Regions from separate parts of the Homo sapiens genome. Here all the other regions are linked to region 2. Evidence: promoter capture Hi-C in human tissues and cell types (Jung and others, 2019). All regions are on one chromosome and are shown on one strand. Each heading gives the region's core, a stretch centred on a gene start or on the middle of the fragment in contact. The rest is flanking DNA. Distances are from core to core; before and after follow the strand shown. Region 1 overlaps LOC105372399 (a long non-coding RNA gene). Region 2 holds the start of IFNL3 (interferon lambda 3). Region 3 has its middle 7.0 kb from the start of FBXO17.

What was found. The method cuts DNA at HindIII sites, captures the fragments that hold promoters and counts their contacts. A contact is called where the count stands out against the background at its distance.
Region 1: a fragment that was not itself captured here is called in contact with the fragment with the promoter of IFNL3 in region 2 in 1 of the 25 tissues and cell types used here (spleen).
Region 3: a fragment that was not itself captured here is called in contact with the fragment with the promoter of IFNL3 in region 2 in 2 of the 25 tissues and cell types used here (H1 embryonic stem cells and spleen).

The regions. Positions count from the first base shown.
Region 1 is chr19:39,550,457-39,554,343 of GRCh38, reverse strand. It overlaps LOC105372399 (a long non-coding RNA gene), which reads right to left. Exons shown (of 3, transcript XR_935966.3): 2 at 988-1,198. Among named protein-coding and RNA genes, the nearest start is that of EID2, 12 kb to the right of the region's middle. RefSeq lists an enhancer at 1,637-1,726. The HindIII fragment of the contact is 3,917 bases long and covers 1-3,444 here.
Region 2 is chr19:39,243,132-39,246,913 of GRCh38, reverse strand. IFNL3 (interferon lambda 3) reads left to right here and starts at 1,908. Exons shown (of 5, transcript NM_172139.4): 1 at 1,908-2,126; 2 at 2,420-2,497; 3 at 2,757-2,906; 4 at 3,007-3,090; 5 at 3,184-3,361. The coding sequence starts at 1,947. The coding sequence ends at 3,282. It also overlaps the pseudogene IFNL4. The HindIII fragment of the contact is 34,684 bases long and covers 1-3,782 here.
Region 3 is chr19:38,980,840-38,984,706 of GRCh38, reverse strand. No RefSeq gene overlaps it. Among named protein-coding and RNA genes, the nearest start is that of FBXO17, 7.0 kb to the right of the region's middle. The HindIII fragment of the contact is 8,720 bases long and covers 1-3,867 here.

The DNA.
Region 1 (3,887 bases), core at 237-2,736, 310 kb before region 2:
ATATTATGCAATCTTTAAAAAATGAAGCAGCAGGCCAAGCGCAGTGGCTCATGCCTGTAATGCCAGCACTTTGGGAGGCCAAGGCGGGCAGATTACCTAAGGTCAGGAGTTCGAGACCAGCCAGACCAACATGGAGAAACCCCATCTATACTAAAAATACAAAAAATTAACCAGGCGTGGTGGTGCATCTCTTTAATCCCAGCTACTTGGGAGGCTGAGGCAGGAGAATCGCTTGGACCTGTGAGGTGGAGGTTGCAGTGAGCTGAGATTGCGCCATTGCACTCCAGCCTGAGCAACAAGAGCGAAACTCCATCTCAAAAAAAAAAAAAAGAAAAATGAAGCAGCACCATAGATAGATGAATTCTCCAAGATATGTTCTTTGACTATAAATCGACTCTAGTTTCCAAAGTGTAATGTACAAAGACATTTATAACAGCATTTGTTTAAAAAGAAATGAAAGCATATATGCATATATGTATATATGAATATGTGTATAGGCATATATACAAAAAGGAATGAAAGCATATTATACAAATGAGGAAGAGGAAATATACGGTTCTCTAATGGTAGATTATCTCTGGAAGGAGAGCAGAGAAGCTGGTAGTGTTGTTCTGGGGAGTAGGAGTGAGGTTCGGGAGTGAAAGGAAGAGTTAATTTTTGACTGACTAAAATAATTTGATTCATACATGTATTTTGTCTATTTGGCCACATGAAAATGTAAATAACAGCATGAGCAGAAATGACAGCTATGGAAATGATTCTCCACCTTGGGGGAAATGGCAAGTGAACCAACCTTGACCTTGGTCAGATTTGGGAAAGAGCTGAGGGTGGCAGTGCAAGCAGAGGGTGCTCTGTGATGAAAAGCCTGGGGCAGGAGTCGTTATGGGAGATGGGTCCCGAGGGACTGGTGGGGCCAGGGCAGGGAGAGCTACCTCCTGCTCTGGGAGTCCACAGAGGCTGCATGCTGGGAGCTCCTGGGGTGCTCACCTGGTCCTCCTTGTCCAGCACTCAGATGCGCAGGTCAAATGATTGGCCACCCTCAAAGGGCATATTGTCAGATTTCACCTCACACTTCCAGACCCCCCACTCATGGCTGTTCATGGCCACACAATGACCAAAGTGCACTCGGAAATGGAAAGCGATGTCTGAGTCCTCATCCATCCCGGTGTGGAAATCCACCTGCAGCTGTGGCTCCTTGCTGAGGGCAAAGCACACGGTGTGTTGGGCAGGTCCTTCCCTTGTGGGGCACACACTTACACCAACACAAATTCCCTCCCCACTCAGAATCTCTGAGAGAGAGACAGGGGCATCAGTAGATGTCATTCCCCTGTGATTTCAATGTGCAGACAGGATGGAGAACCAGCGGGTTAGAATAATTTGTCACAGAATTGATGGTATTATGTGGCAGATACCCTTTTTCACAAGAGGTATTAGGAGGATTTGGGGAAATGCTTATATGAGTGTAGCCTAATTTTACTGGCCCAGCCCCATGAAGAAGCCCACCTTCATTTTCTTCAGTGAAGTATAAAGGGGAAAAGAAAGATACAGAGACCAAATTTCTTATTTATTAAAAGTCAGAACCTGGGCAACATGGCAAAACCCCATCTCTACAAAATATACCAAAAACAAAAAAAATTAGCCAGGCATGGTGGCATATGCCTATTGTCCCAACTACTCAGGAGGCGGAGGTAGGAGGATCAGTGGAGCCCAGGAGGTCGAAGCTGCAGTGAGACATGATTGCACCAGCCTGGGTGACAGAACAAGACCTTGTCTCAAAGGGAAAAAAAAGAGAAGTCAGTATTCGTAGACTTACAGGAAACCACAGTTTCAGTTCTGGAGAGACCTCTAGAAATAGTCCATCTCCTCAAAATATACACAAAATTTCAGAGGAGACATCAACTCAACAAGTTAACAATAGAGGAAGTACTTAGTAAGTTGCTCTGACAGGGTCCCAAAAGAACACTCAAAAGGGCCAGGCACGGTGGCTCACACCTGTAATCCCAGCACTTTGGGAGGCCAAAGGTGGGCGGATCACCTGAGGTCAGGAGTTCGAGACCAGCTTGACCAAGATAGTGAAACCCACCTCTACTGAAAATACAAAAATTAGCCAGCATGGTGGCGAGAGCCTGTAATCCCAGCTACTTGTGAGGCTGAGGCAGGAAAATCGCTTGAACCTGGGAGGTGGAGGTTGTAGTGAGCCGAGATCGCACCATTGCACTCCAGCCTGGGCGACAGAGCAAGACTCCATCTCAAAAAAAAGAACACTCATAAGAGACAAATGGTGGATGACAACTTTGATAGACAACTTCGATAGAATTTTTCACATTAACAATCTCAGAAGGCCGCCCCTGATGGCTCACGCCTGTAATCCCAACACTTTCGGGGGCCAAGGCAGGTGGATCTCTTGAGCCCAGGAGTTCAAGACCAGCCTGGACAACATGGTGAAACCCCGTCTCTACAAAAATTAGCCGGGCATGGTGGCATGCATTTGTAATCCTAGCTATTCGTGAGGCTGAGGCAGGGGGATAGCTTGAGCCCAGGAGGCAAAGGTTGCCGTGAGCCGAGATCGTGCCACTGCACTCCAGCCTGAGCGACAGAGCCAGGCCTTATTTCAAAAAAAAAAGAGGAAAAAAAAAGAAAAAAAAAACACTATCTCAGAAGAGATAGCAAATCTGGGTAAGTCTTTAGAACTTGTTTCTATCAAGATTTTGACTTGGCTGCCCTCTAGTGGGCAGAAGCCTGACCCGACAGTAAGGAGAGAGAAAACGGTGGGCTCCACTTTCCCCAGTGTTCCCAGCTGGAGTGTGGATTCTGCACAACCGTTACCAGGATGCTCTGAGTCCTGGCCTCTTTTTTTTTTTTTTTTTTTTTTTTGACAGGTGGAATCTCACTCTGCCACCCAGGCTGGAGTGCAGTGGCCCGGTCTTGGCTCACTGCAACCTCCGCCTCCCGGGTTCAAGCAATTCTCCTGCCTCAGCCTCCGGAGTAGTTGGGATTACAGGCATGTGCCACCACGCCCAGCTAATTTTTTTTTCTACTTTTAATAGAGATAGGGTTTCACCATGTTGGCCAGACTGATCTCAAACTCCTGACTTCAAGTGATCCACCTGCCTTGGCCTCCCAAACTGCTGGGATTACAGGCGTGAGCCACTGCGCCTGGCTGAGTCCTGGCCTCTACTTAGAGGTTTATGTGCAAATGTTTATTTCCAGAAATTGTTTGCAGCAGTGACTTAGGGGAAAGGACAGTTTAATCATAAGGAAGCAATCAGACGCCAGGCGCCGTGGCTTACGCCTGTAATCCCAACACTTTGGAAGGCTGAAGCGGGCGGATCACCTGAGGTCGCCAGTTTGAGACCAGCCTGACCAACATGGAGAAACCCCGTCTCTACTAAAAATACAAAAAATTAGCTAGGCATGGTGGTGCATGCCTGTAATCCCAGCTACTCGGGAGGCTGAGGCAGGAGAATCGCTTGAAGCTGGGAGGTGGAGGTTGCAGTGAGCGAGATCATGCCATTGCACTCCAGCTTGGGCAACAAGAGCAAAACTCCGTCTCAAAAAAAAAAAAAGAAAAAACAATCAGACAATCCCAGAAGTATGGGATGTTATACAAAACAACTGGCCTGGACTACGCAAAAACTCAGTGTCAAGATAGCCACAAAAAAGGAGAGGAGGCCGAGCACAGTGGCTCACACTTGTAATTCTAGCACCTTAAAGGCCAAAGCAGGCAGACTGCAGACTGGGGGAGGATTGCCAAAGGCCAAGAGTTCAAAAACAGCCTGGGAAACATATCAAGATTATCTCTACTAAAAAAAAAAAATTAATTAGCCGGGCATGGTGGCACCCACTTGTAGTCCTGGCTACTTGGTAGGCTCAGGTGGGAGTGTCGC
Region 2 (3,782 bases), core at 659-3,158:
ATTTCCTCGGGGTGCATTGTACGACCCTCCAACGGTTGCTGTGGCAGGAAAAAACTTGAGCTCTGGAAACCGTGGCTGACCCCAGGCAACAGGGACCAGTTCCTCCTTGTGTGGTTACCAGGACACCCCCAACACCAGGTCCTAACCCCGGATTTGTAGCCCCACAGCCAGCTTTGAGATTCTGTGAATCCGTGACTCTTGGATCCGGCATCTAAGGGACACCAATCCATGAGGGATTTGGTAGTGAAAGGCCCAAGGGTCCTTAACCGACTGTGGTTCTTTGGATTCCCTTACGTGTGTTTGTATTTGTGAAGTTCCTGTGCATTTGCTATTCTGTCTCCCGGTTTAAATTTATTGCCAGTTATCAAAGAGTGTTTTGATCGCATTGGTTGTTTTCCGTATGATGATTGTGAGGTGCACCTTACAGCAAAAAAAGAGGCCGAGCCAGGGACTCAGGTGGCCTGAGTTTCAGTTCTGACCCTGCCAGTTAATTACAGTGGAATTCAGGGCAAATTACTTTTCTGAGCCTCTGTTTCCTCACCTATAGGATGGGTTAGCATACTTGCCTTGTGGAGGAGTAGTGTCCGTTGAGATCACGTTTTAAACTCTCCAGCTGAGGTCCTAGTATGGTCTTAATGAGTGGATTCTATTAAATAATCACTCACATAAATACACAAACAATTGTGTTATTAATTTTTTCTCCAAATCTGTGCATTAGCAATCTGCGTTGCTGAATGCACCCCTCCTTGCCAAGGTCACACGGCTAGTGAGGGTCAGAACCAGGTTTGAACCCCAGACCCTTCATCTCCAAGACCCATGCTCTTCACCACTGCCTGAACTTCCCTAAGAAAGACGGCACCCACGTGGTGTCCTTCAAGTCCTTCGTCACACCTCAATTCTTGAGCAGAGCCTCATATTCCTGAGTCCTTCCTTGCCTGGGCAATTAAGAAATATTGGCCTCTGGGCATGGTGGCTCACACTGAAATCCCAGCAATTTGGGAGGCCTAGACAGAGAGATGACTTGACATCAGGAATTTGAGACCAGCCTTGCCAACATGGTGAAACGCCATCTCTACTAAAAATATAAAAATTAGCTGGGAATGGTGGCACAAATCTGTAATCTCAGCTACTTGGGAGGCTAAGGCAAGAGAATTGCTTGAACCCAGGAGGCGGAGGTTGCAGTTAGCCAAGATTTTGCACTGCACTCCAGCCTGGGTGACCGAACAAGACCCTGTCTCAAAATATATATATATATATATATATATATATGCCAGGAGTGGTGGCTCAGGCCTGTAATCTCAGCACTTTAATAGGCTGGGTGAGGAGGATGGCTTGAGCCCAGGAGTTTGAGGCTGCAGTGAGCTGTGATCATGCCATTGCACTGCAGTGACAGAGTGAGACCCTGTCTTAAACAACAACAAAACCAGAGCAGGTGGAATCCTCTTGGGAACATACCTTCCTGTAGGTTACCCCTGAGTCTCCATCAGTTTCTCTTTCCCTCCAGCTGCTCATCTGGCTCACTAGCCCTGCCCTGCTCTGGGCTTTCCCAGCCTGGGGCTCCCCTGGTGGCCGGTGTCTTACCTGAGGCTGTGTTTTCACTTTTCCTACATCAGCTGGGACTGCCCTTCTGTCAGGGATAAAAGCTGCCCCATGGAGCTCAGGCAGGAATTACATCCCAGACAGAGCTCAAAACTGACAGAAAGAGTCAAAGCCAGGACACAGTCTGAGATCCAGAAGAGGGGACTGAAAAGAACAGAGACTCCAGACAAGACCCAAACAGACCCTGGGTGACAGCCTCAGAGTGTTTCTTCTGCTGACAAAGACCAGAGATCAGGAATGAAACTAGGTGAGTCCCACATCTCTGTCCGTGCTCAGCTCCTGCAGCCCCTGCCCTCAGTGGGCAGCCTCTGCATTCCCTCAGCTCCCTTTCTCTCTGTGACACAGACATGACCGGGGACTGCATGCCAGTGCTGGTGCTGATGGCCGCAGTGCTGACCGTGACTGGAGCAGTTCCTGTCGCCAGGCTCCGCGGGGCTCTCCCGGATGCAAGGGGCTGCCACATAGCCCAGTTCAAGTCCCTGTCTCCACAGGAGCTGCAGGCCTTTAAGAGGGCCAAAGATGCCTTAGTGAGTCTCCCCCTGCCCTCCTGCCATGGACTAGCCTCCACCCGCACTCCAAGGGTCACCATGCTTTCCCACTCCCAGCTTCCTTCACTGGGCTAGCCTCCACCCTCCCTGCAGTGGGCTATCTCATGCTCCTACTGCAGGGACTGACTCATGTTTTCCTGAAGAAGAGGGTCCTCTACCATCCTCCCAGCAGTTAACCTCCCCTATCCTGTTGTCAGCCATCCTCCAATCCCATCAGAGTGGTCTAACCTCCACCCCTCCTGCTGGGGCTAACCTGTGCCTTTGCTGTCTAGGAAGAGTCGCTTCTGCTGAAGGACTGCAAGTGCCGCTCCCGCCTCTTCCCCAGGACCTGGGACCTGAGGCAGCTGCAGGTGAGAGGGGGAGTCAGGCCCACCCCTGCCCTCCCAGCCCTGCTCACCTGGCTCTGTAGTGGCCCCTTCACCTTCTCCTTCTCCATTGTCCCTCTCTCCTCTCCCCACACCTGCTACCCCTTCCCTCTGCTCCTACCTGACCACACTGGCTGTGCCCTCTCCCCTGTGCCTGTCACCTTCACTTGTTCCTCTCTATCCTCCTCCCCCAACCTGTTCCCCTCACCTCCCCCCTCACCTGCTCTTTCTCACCTCTCCTCAGGTGAGGGAGCGCCCCGTGGCTTTGGAGGCTGAGCTGGCCCTGACGCTGAAGGTTCTGGAGGCCACCGCTGACACTGACCCAGCCCTGGGGGATGTCTTGGACCAGCCCCTTCACACCCTGCACCATATCCTCTCCCAGCTCCGGGCCTGTGTGAGTCGTCAGGGCCCGGGCACCCAGGTCTGTGAGCTCTGAGCAGCGTCCTTCCCCTGGCCAAGGCCCCGGCTCACACACCGCCCTCCTCTGCCCACAGATCCAGCCTCAGCCCACGGCAGGGCCCAGGACCCGGGGCCGCCTCCACCATTGGCTGCACCGGCTCCAGGAGGCCCCAAAAAAGGTGAGTGACCCGGGAAGAGAGGGACTGAGGTCTGGGGAGCCACTGGGAGCCCAGAACCCAGACAGCCCCTGACCCATCCCCTCCTCCCTACAGGAGTCCCCTGGCTGCCTCGAGGCCTCTGTCACCTTCAACCTCTTCCGCCTCCTCACGCGAGACCTGAATTGTGTTGCCAGCGGGGACCTGTGTGTCTGACCCTTCCGCCAGTCATGCAACCTGAGATTTTATTTATAAATTAGCCACTTGGCTTAATTTATTGTCACCCAGTCGCTATTTATGTATTTGTGTATGTAAATCCAACTCACCTCCAGGAAAATGTTTATTTTTCTACTTTTTGAAATCCTTGTTGAAATAAACAATGAGGAAAAGACACCCATGACGTGGGACTGTGTGTGCGTTGGTGTGTATTTCCTTTGCATTGCTGCCATAACAAATTACCCTAAAAGTAGCATCTAGAACAGCAGGTTCATTGAGTCTGTGCTGTCCACTGGGGTCCCCAGGTCACATGTCACTATCGAGCACCTGGAATGTAGGTGGTGCAACCTCATTTTTTCAGTGAGTGTAAAACATACCCCAGAATTTGAAGATTTACTGTGGAGAAAAAAAAAAAAGTAAAACAGCTTAATTATAATTTATATATTCATTAGATGTTGAAATGATAGCACTTTGGATGTATTGGGTGAAATGAAGCATCT
Region 3 (3,867 bases), core at 486-2,985, 260 kb after region 2:
GTATCCTGGGGTGGTGATTAAGGGCTCCGGGGTCAGACCAGACTTCACCGAGGTTTTTTTTTTGTTTTGAGATGGAGTCTCACTCTGTCATCCAGGCTGGAGTGCAGCGGCACGATCTCGGCTCACTGCAACCTCTGCCTGCCCGGTTGAAGCGATTCTCCTGCCTCAGCCTCCCGAGTACCTGGGGTTACAGGCATGTGCCACCACGCCAGGCTAATTTTTGCATTTTTAGTAGAGACGGGTAAATTTTTGTATTTTGAGTGATCCACCCACCTCAGCCTCCCAAAGTGCTGGGATTCAACGCGTCAGCCACCGTGTCCGGCCATCGTTTTTGTTTAAAATATTTTTTAACACCACAGCTTCTTTCACATATTAATTTACTCATTCATTCCACAAATATATATATATATATATAATTTCTTTTTTTGAGACAGAGTCTTGCTCTGTCACCCAGGCCAGAGTGCAATGGTGCGATCTTGGTTCACCGCAACCTCCACCTCCCAGGTTCAAGTGATTCCCCTGCCTCAGCCTCCCAAGTAGCTGGGATTACAGACATGTACCACCATGCCTGGATAACTTTTTGTATTTTTATATTTCTTTATTTATTTTTTTTTCTGAGATGGAGTCTTGCTCTGTCACCCATGCTGGAGTGCAGTGGCACTCTCTCTGCTCACTGCAACCGTTACCTCGATTCTCCTATCTCAGTCCCCCAGGTAGCTGGGATTACAGGCACCCGCTACCACGCCTGGCTAATTTTTTGTATTTTTAATAGAAATGGAGTTTCATCATGTTGGCCAGGCTGGTCTCAAACTCCTGACCTCAGGTGATCTACCCACCTAGGCCTCCCAAAGTGTTGGGATTACAGGCGTGAGCCACTGCACCCGGCCTAGGCTTCTCTGTTTCTTAGCGCTATTGTCTCTACTTGTTTCTTCAGGGTAGCAAAGGTCCCTATTCCAGAGAGTTGCTGGAAGAATTAGATGTGATACTGTACCTAGATCTCTTAGCCCAGAACCTGGCACTTAAGATTTTATTTTATTTTTATTTTTTTTCTTTTTTATTTATTTATTTTGGCACTTAATATTTTAGAACTAATGATTATAAAATGTGATTAGATAACAACTACTAGAATGATGACCACTATTATTATAAAAGAACTATGGTCCGAGCCAGACATGGTGGTTCATGCCTGTAATCACAGCACCTTGGGAGGCCGAGGTGGGAGGATCACTTGAGGTCAGGAGTTCAAGACCAGCCTGGGCAACATAGCAAGACGACAGGCGTGGTTGCTGATGCCTGTATTCCCAGCACTTTGGGAGGCCGAGGATTACTTGAGGTCAGGAGACCAGCCTGGCCAACACCAGTGAAACCCCATCTCTACTAAAAATACAAAAAAATTAGCTGGGTGTGGTGGTACATGGCTGTAGTCCCAGCTACTAGGGAGGCTGAGGCAAGAAAATTGCTTGAACCTGGGAGATGGAGGTTGCAGTGAGCCAAGATCATGCCATTGCACTCCAGCCTGAGCAACAGATCAAGACTCCATCTCAAAAAAAAAAAAAAAAAAAAAAAAAAAAAAGAGCCCAGGCATGGTAGCTCACGCCTATAATCCCAGCATTTTGGGAGGCCAAGGCAGGTGGATCACATGAGGTCAGGAGTTTGAGACCAGCCTGGCCAACATAGTAAAACCCCATCTCTACTAAAAATACAAAAATTAGCCAGGCGTGGCAGAGTGCACCTATAATCCCAGCTACTTGGGAGGCTGAGGCAGGAGAATTGCTGGAACCCAGGAGGTGGAGATTGCAATGAGCCAAGATCGCACCACTGCACTCCACCCTGGGTAACAGAGTGAGACTGTGTCTCAAAAAAAATTTAAATAAATAACTATGGTGTATGGTAGACTGAATAATCCCCCCTTCTGCCAAAATTATCCAGGTCCTAACCTCTGGAATTTGTGAATGTTTCCTTATATGGCAAAAATAACTTTGCAGATATAATGACGTTAAGGTGGGTGGGGGGATCTTTGTTTTTTAGAGACGAGGTCTCCCTACGTTGCCCAGGCTGGTCTCGAATTCCTAAGCTAAAGTTATCCTCCTGCCCCAGCTTCCCAAACTGCTGAAATTACAGGTGTGAGCCACCACACCTGGCCGAAGTTATAGGTTTTGAGACAAGAAGATTATCCTGGAGTATCTAGGTGGGAGGCAACCCAGACCCCCACACGGCCTCCTGTGACACCCTTGCAGACAGTAGTCTCTCCAGGTGGCATGTGGCTTGAGAATTTTTTTGGAGCTTACTCTATGAGTCTGTGCCTGTCTAGGTATTGTGGCTCACGCCTGTAATCCCAGCACTTTGGGAAGCTGAGGCGGAAGGATTGCTTGAGCCCAGGAGACCAGCCCTGGGAACATGGTGATACCCTATCTTTACCCCAAAAAAAAAAAAAAAAGCCAGGTGTGGTGGTGCACACCTGTAGTCCCAGCTACTTGGGAGGTTGAGGTGGGAGGATCACTTGAACCCAGGAGGTCGAGGCTGTCATGAGCCATGATCATGCCACTGCACTCTAGCCTGGGCAACAGAGCAAGACCTTGTCTCAAAACAAAACAAAAAAAAGTGTGTGTGTGTGTGTGTGTGTGTGTGTGTGTGTGCCTTCAGTTCTGTGTGTGTGTGTACCTGTCTCTATCCCTACCAGGGGTTGTGTCTCTATGTCTCTATTTATATCTAAATGGATATTTTTTGTGCCCTACATTTTCCAAGAGGATTCCTTGCAAGTTTCCTTTTTTGTTCAGAAGATCTTCCTGGCCGGGCACGGTGGTTCACACCTGTAATCCCAACACTTTGGGAGGCTGAGGCAGGTGGATCACATGGTCAGGAGTTTGAGACCAGCCTGGCCAATATGGTGAAACTCCATCTCTACTAATAATACAAAAATTAGCCAGGCATGGTGGTGGGCGCCTGTAATCCCAGCTACTCAGAAGGCTGAGGCAGGAGAATTGCTTGAACTCGGGAGGCGGAAGTTGCAGTGAGCCGAGATGGCACCACTGCACACAGCCTGGGCGACAGAGAAAGACTCTGCCTGAAAAAAAAAAAAAAAAAGATTTTTCTCTATCTGGTAAGCTTTTAATTTTTAACTTTCTGCCCTCCAACTATGCACATCTTCACAGTGCAGATGTATCTCTAATTGATTAACTGGGTCCCTTGACAGCCATCACTAAGGCAAAGCTGGACTGCTTTGTTTTGGGCATTTCTTTTGTCTTCTAAAGGCTCATAATGTAGGAGTCTGCAGGGCCAGGCTCCCGGCTGAGTGCTTCGAGAGGATCATCCCAGGAGTTGCCACCGATGCAGGATTTTTCTCAGCCACATTGCTGCCCAGAGACCTCTGGCCAGCAATGCCACTGCCCTGGCCTTGCACTGTTCCCAGGTTTGTTGCAGGAGGCACCCTGCCCACTCAGCCCACCAGGGCACAGCTGGATTGCACTCTGGCATGGATCCCACAGCCACCGTGACTTTGCACTCAGCCCCTGGGTGGGAGGGGGTGTGTGAACTAGCAAGTGTGGGGTCCCACTGGCCCCTGCAAGCACTGACACAGGGGCAGGCTCCATGTAGGGTTTGTGGCTGGACCAGGTGTGTTGCAAGCGGCTCCCACTGTGTACTCTGGCGTTCAGACAAGGAGAACACGGCGGCACCCAAACAGGGAAGCCCATGACCCTGAAGTCCCAGAGGTGGTGTTATAGCATGCTAACAGCTCTGTTAGTCCCTCCACAGCCTGACGAAAGGAGGCATGTTAGTAGTTCTGTTATGTTGCCCCACTCTGGCCTGTAGCTCCAGGGCTGGCCTGGTCTTGCCACTGCTTTCTGTTGCATGGGGTGGCCGCTAGGC